Regions from separate parts of the Homo sapiens genome. Here region 2 is linked to region 1. Evidence: promoter capture Hi-C in human tissues and cell types (Jung and others, 2019). All regions are on one chromosome and are shown on one strand. Each heading gives the region's core, a stretch centred on a gene start or on the middle of the fragment in contact. The rest is flanking DNA. Distances are from core to core; before and after follow the strand shown. Region 1 holds the start of SLC38A1 (solute carrier family 38 member 1). Region 2 holds the start of PCED1B (PC-esterase domain containing 1B).

What was found. Contacts are between HindIII fragments. The study calls those that stand out against the background at their distance.
Region 2: the fragment with the promoter of PCED1B here is called in contact with the fragment with the promoter of SLC38A1 in region 1 in 1 of the 25 tissues and cell types used here (mesendoderm cells).

What each region holds. Positions count from the first base shown.
Region 1 is chr12:46,267,593-46,270,292 of GRCh38, forward strand. It overlaps SLC38A1 (solute carrier family 38 member 1), which reads right to left and starts at 1,451. Exons shown (of 17, transcript NM_030674.4): 1 at 934-1,451. It overlaps LOC105378248 (a long non-coding RNA gene), which reads left to right and starts at 1,479. Exons shown (of 2, transcript XR_001749101.1): 1 at 1,479-1,566. RefSeq lists enhancers at 851-910, 909-1,891, 1,031-1,080, 1,131-1,230 and silencers at 1,641-1,820, 1,901-2,000. The HindIII fragment of the contact is 6,474 bases long and covers 1-2,700 here.
Region 2 is chr12:47,078,198-47,080,897 of GRCh38, forward strand. PCED1B (PC-esterase domain containing 1B) reads left to right here and starts at 1,424. Exons shown (of 4, transcript NM_138371.3): 1 at 1,424-1,528. It overlaps AMIGO2 (adhesion molecule with Ig like domain 2), which reads right to left and starts at 1,762. Exons shown (of 3, transcript NM_001370299.1): 1 at 1,265-1,762; 2 at 945-1,051; 3 at 1-868. The coding sequence starts at 805. The HindIII fragment of the contact is 14,777 bases long and covers 1-2,700 here.

The DNA of each region.
Region 1 (2,700 bases), core at 201-2,700:
CCCCATGCGCCAGGAGGTGGATAATTTAGGGGGCAAGGGGCTCGCACAAGGGCGAAGATGCGCTCTCCTCCCGGCACCGACCCACGCGTTTAAAGGCCTCTGCGGCAACGTTTAGGGACGCGAACTAGGTGCCGGGGGTTGGGGAGGAGGTGGGACTGGAAGCGAGAGCAGTCTGCGCCCAAGACCGCGCAAGAGGTGGCCTTTTGTTCGCTGGCTCCAGCACATCCCGGCTCTCGAAAAAACACTACCTCTGTCCCCTGCCACCCTCTGCATTTTAGAAAATCCTCTTCAGGGCAGGAAAGGACAGTGAGTCACTGCAAGCATCCTTTAGTAATTTCTCCCCGCGCCCTCCTACTTCCCCGCGTTACAGAGGGGCAGAGCACCAGGAAGGACGGCAAACATGCCCCGGTTTAGTGGTGGTCCGCGGCCGCTACCCAGCCGGCCGCACGCAGCACCCCCCGGACATCACACGATCTCCTCTGGGCCTTGCGGACACAGGAAATTTTCACCAAAGGCCGGGGATTCAAACACTCCCAGAACACGGTCGCGCCCTCGGGTCAGCTGCGCTCTCCCTCCAGACGTGCGTGGTTCCTGGCTCTCGTAAAAATGGAACCAGATCTGGTACCACACTCTGCCACAGCCACAGGAAAACACACCAAAGTCACAGGAAAACAAACCAAAAAGTAAGCCACAGCCCACGCAAAGGTGAACTCGGGGGCCCTGGCGCTTCCTCCCGCTGCCGCGTGCGTTCGGGAAGCACAGGAGACCTGGACTTTTCCTCTCCTAAAAGCAACATCCGAAAGCATCGGGCACAGCCGAGCTCTCTCTGCTTTCACGCCCGCAGAGATGATTTCTACGTTACCTCCTCCTCCGACATCTAAATCTCCCCTTGCCGCTCGCCCAGCCCTCCCCGGGAACGGATAATCACCTTACCTCCGGAAATAAAGGGAAAGGTGGCAAAAGGCGATGTGGAGGTGTCCGCCCTTCCGGGGTTTTTACCCTCGGCAGTTTGATGTCCTTTGTGTCAAGGTCTGGCTGCGGAGGCCGGGAAAATGTGGCCCCCGTCAGTAAGGGTTGGGCAGGGAGCTTGGCGTGGCCTGGCGGATTTCGGAGGAAGGTGAAGGGCGGAGGCTCCTGGCGACCTTCTGGCGGAGTGGCGTGGCCGCCCCAGTCCGCGCTCGCCTGGCTCTCCTCCTTTCCGGGCCGATTGCATCAGAATCTCCCCTCACCACCAACCCCCACTCACACTCTGCTCGCCGGCCTCGCACTTACATCGACATGCACCGGCGCTGAGGGTCACGAATCGGAGTCATTCTCCTACTGGGGGACGCGTGGCCCTTCCGCAACCATGGCTTGTGATGGTTTAACGCGGACAGGCCATTCCTCCCCGTCCCGCGCGCGGTCTCCTCCCCTCCTGTGCGCCCGCTCTTTAACCAAAGCTGCGTGTCAGTGAGCCGTGCCGGTCACATGGTGTCACTGCTGGCGGCCGCACCTTGCTGCCTCCCTCTTGCAGCTCTCTGACGATGCAGCGACCGCGGCTGGCGGAGATTGAGCAACGGGGAAAGGGTGAGGGAGGGGTTGCGGGGCGCGCGTGTGCCCGGCGCACTGAAGCTGGCACCGGGAGCAGAGGCTGCGCGCCGCCCTGGCACCTGCCCCTCTCCCTCCCGGGGCCCGGCGGCGTGTTCGGAACCCAGCTGCGGCTGCAGCTGGAGAATGAGAGCCCTTAGGGATGGGGGTGGGGCGGCTAAAGGGGCACCGGCGGAGGACAGGAGGGCTGTGCGTTCCGCTGGGGCCTGCATTTTGGGTACGCCAGAGCCCCGCCGGGGCCGAAGGAGCGAGGGAGTTGCATTGTGGGAAGGGCGCAGCATGAGGATGGCCGCGGGAGTGGCAGGTCCGAGCGCAGCCCGGAGAGCCGCGGGCAGCGCCTGGGACTACGGGCAGCGTTGGAGCGGAGGGCTGGCCCTGGGCACAGCCTGCAGATGGCCCGGGTTGGCGGGAAGGGGACCGAAGTGGCAGGGGCGGCGGGGAGCTCGGGCACCTTTAAAAACCCTTTGTCCCTAACCTGAAGCGGGAGGCACCTCCCCTCTTCCGGATCCAGCACCCGCAGACCTGGTCAGCCCTTCCTGAGATCTGCCCTGTGGAGCTCTGCTTTGGGGACTGGGTGTGAGGTGAACCAGAAGGATTTGCTGAGCACCGAGAAAGCACCGGCCTAGGCGCAAAGAGCCGGGGGCCAGCTCTTGGAGGGCCTGGAGACCCCACGTGGTCCCGACCGAAGGACCTGGTGCGTCCAGGTTAACGGAGCTGGGGCGCTCCAAGTCCGGGGGACGAGGGAGCGGCATGGAGGGGAGCAGGGGCAACTGGGCCTGGTTCCCTTTTTTCCCGCTTACTCTTTGTTTCAGACACAGCCCCCTTTCACTGGCTGGGCACTTGCTTGCAGAGGAGTTGTGTCTTAAAATGGCGACAGGAAATCCCACCTGCGCCTCAGCCAATTAGACTGTCATAGCGCGAATTTGCAGGGTGGAAACGCGAGCTTTTTATTGATAGGGAAGGTTCAGTCTCCTGTTCATGGTTCATCAAAACAGGAAAGGGAAGGTGAATCATAATTCAAAAATTAACTACCTGGAGCGTTTCAAGTAGACAGTAGTCATTGTATTTGGGTGAATTTTGCTTTTTCATCACCACTGGAAAAGCAAGATGATA
Region 2 (2,700 bases), core at 174-2,673, 810 kb after region 1:
AGTGCCTGGAGTCAGACCACAGGCGACAGGTGTAATCGTTCTTAAAATCCATCACTGAGCTAAAGTGCCTACGATACCAAAAGACCAGCAAGGAGTACAGGGAACAGTCACAGACAAATGGGTTTCCATGAAGGTAGATGCCTCTCAGCTGTTTTCCTGGCACTAAATTTATGTGGTGCATTGGCATGGAAGGAATTCGGTTATAAGAAACATCTAAAAACATCAGTTCTGCCAGCTTGAACCTTCCAACATACAAATCCATCGGAAACTGTGTGAGAAAATTTCCACTTAAGTAGAGTTTCTGCAACTGGGAGAGCCCTCCAAACGCTGAAGGATCGAGATAGGATATGTGATTGTTGTAAAGCAGAAGCACTTCCAGAACCTTCAACTCTTGGAATACAGCATTTTTCACCGTCTTCAGCTTATTGGACGATAAGTCAAGACACTTCAAATTTGGAGTTGTGGAAAAACTGCCCGTGGAAATGCTGGTGATGTTGTTATGACGAAGAATTAGGGTGTTCAGCTTTGCAAACGATACTGGAATCCACTCAGAATCCAGAAGCCCAATTCTGTTATAACTCAGGTCCAGTCTCTTAATCAGTCTGAAAAGGTTCCCAGGCACCTTGGACAGGTTTTTGTTGGTGCAGCTGACGATGTCAGTGGCACAGATGCAAGCGGTGGGGCACACCCCAGAGGCACCAGGGCCCACAGTCACTGTGATCATCAGCAAACACAGCAGCTCCCTGCAGCCCGGTCTGACGACGGCTCCAAGCAGGGTGGGCAGAGTGTGTACACGTAACGACATTATGGTCGCCTCTGAGTCTCTTCCCGGTGTCTTTTCCACCGGCTCAGCCTCCCACCAGTGAACCTGGCAAACAATTAATAATTCAGAGGGAGTAAAAAGCAGAAACTGACTACCACTAGTTAACCCATAAGAGCCATACCTTACTTTCTTTCCAATAACTTTTGAAATGGGTTTTATTTCACAATAGGGAGCTCTGTGTTGCCTCTTCACTGTTAAATGTATTTTTTCCTCTTTCCTGGGTTAGTCCTGCTTATAAAAATGTACAGTCACATTCTCTCCATACAACCCACCGTCTCACCCACCATCAGAAACTCAATTTTTTCCTAAGGTGCATCCTGCGTTGTTGTTGTTGTTGTTGTTGTTTTAAACTCCCTCCAACAGACACAACTATACGCAAACGTACGCTACAAACAATTAAACGGAAATACTTAGCAACCACCCATCCAGGAAAAAACTCACGGTGCTGGGGAGCCTCGTGGGCTCCGGGGAGGCTGCCTACGCAGTGCCTTCCGAAGGTCTGCGCGTCCGTCTGTCCGTGTCTGTCACTCTTGCACCTTCCGACTTCCTTTCCCTCCGGCTCCCGGCGGGCGGCACCCTCTAGCCGGCTCTCAACTTTGAGGAGTTTCAAGCAGCCGCGGCGGCAGCAGCAGCCCTGGACGCAGCAGCCAAGCTCTTCGCTGGCTCCCGGGGGCTCTCCCGGGTTCCTCTCATTGCAGGCTGAAGGTACCGCCTCGGCGCTCTGGCCGCCGTGTGCCCGCGCGCGGGGCGCCCCGCTCCCAGAGCCGGGGCCGCGGGAGGGGGCGCAGGCAGCCGGGCGGCAGCGGGCGGCCCCGCCTCTCCGCACTCGGGAGGCTGCAGGACCCGGGGTTCCCGCGCGCCCGGGGCCGGGAGACGGGCTGGGGCGCCGGTCCCACCCCTGCGCGTCCTGCCTCCTGCGGGCAGCAGCTCGGAGCCTGCGGGAGGGAGCAGGCTGGGCGCGTGGTGGGGGGCGCGCGATGCGGAGGGGGCGGCGGCGCAGCCAATCCGAGAGGCGGCCGGCGCCCCCTCATACCGCCCCGCGGCCTCGCCGCCTCCTCCCGCTTTCCTCCTCCAGCTCCCACCCGGACCTCTAGAACGGCCGCGCAGAGCGGGGAGGGGGCAGGGGTCCACACCAGAGGCCCAGACTCTGGTCCTTGAGTCAAGATGCCCAACCCACTCGCCTACCAATTACGTCCCTTCGTCCAGCTCCAAGCCGGGCGGTAATGGGGTCCAGGAAGGCTAAAGGGGACACGCCCAGCCACCGAGGGAGGGGTCTCACCCTTGGAGACCCACTTCGCGGCGGCCGCACAGGTCACGTCTCTCTCCCCACCCAGGCCAAGGAATCCCCGGACCTCTTAGAGCTTTGCTTTGGGGCAAGGGCCAAGGAGGCTTTGCCTGCGCCAAGTGCAGTTGACTGTCTGGGTTTACAAAATAAACCCAGAAGCAGCCTGACGTCTCCGCTCGTTTCTAGGGAGGAGGTCGCGGGGAGGGAAGTCGGGAACGTTTCCTCTCCACAGGGATATCTGCTGGGAGGAAGTAACCGGGAAATCGCCACGGGGACACCCCTCACCTCCCTGGGAAAGTTCTATCCCTTTCCTGACTCAGGAGGCGGCAACAGGGATGGTGTCCAATTCAAGAAGGAGGAGGGCAGGAAAGAAGGCTTGGAGCCGACCTTCCGGCTGGAATGCAAAGATAAGAGTATTAACCCAAATAATAATAATAATCCCAGAGCAGACCTTTTTTTCTTTTTTCTCTCTTCTCCTTCCCCTCTTCTCTCTCCCTCTCTCTCTCCCTCTCTCTCCTTTCTCTTTCGTTCTCTCTCTCTCATTTCCTCTGTCTCTGTCCCCGCCACCTCCCCGTCTTTTGCAAGCGTGCTC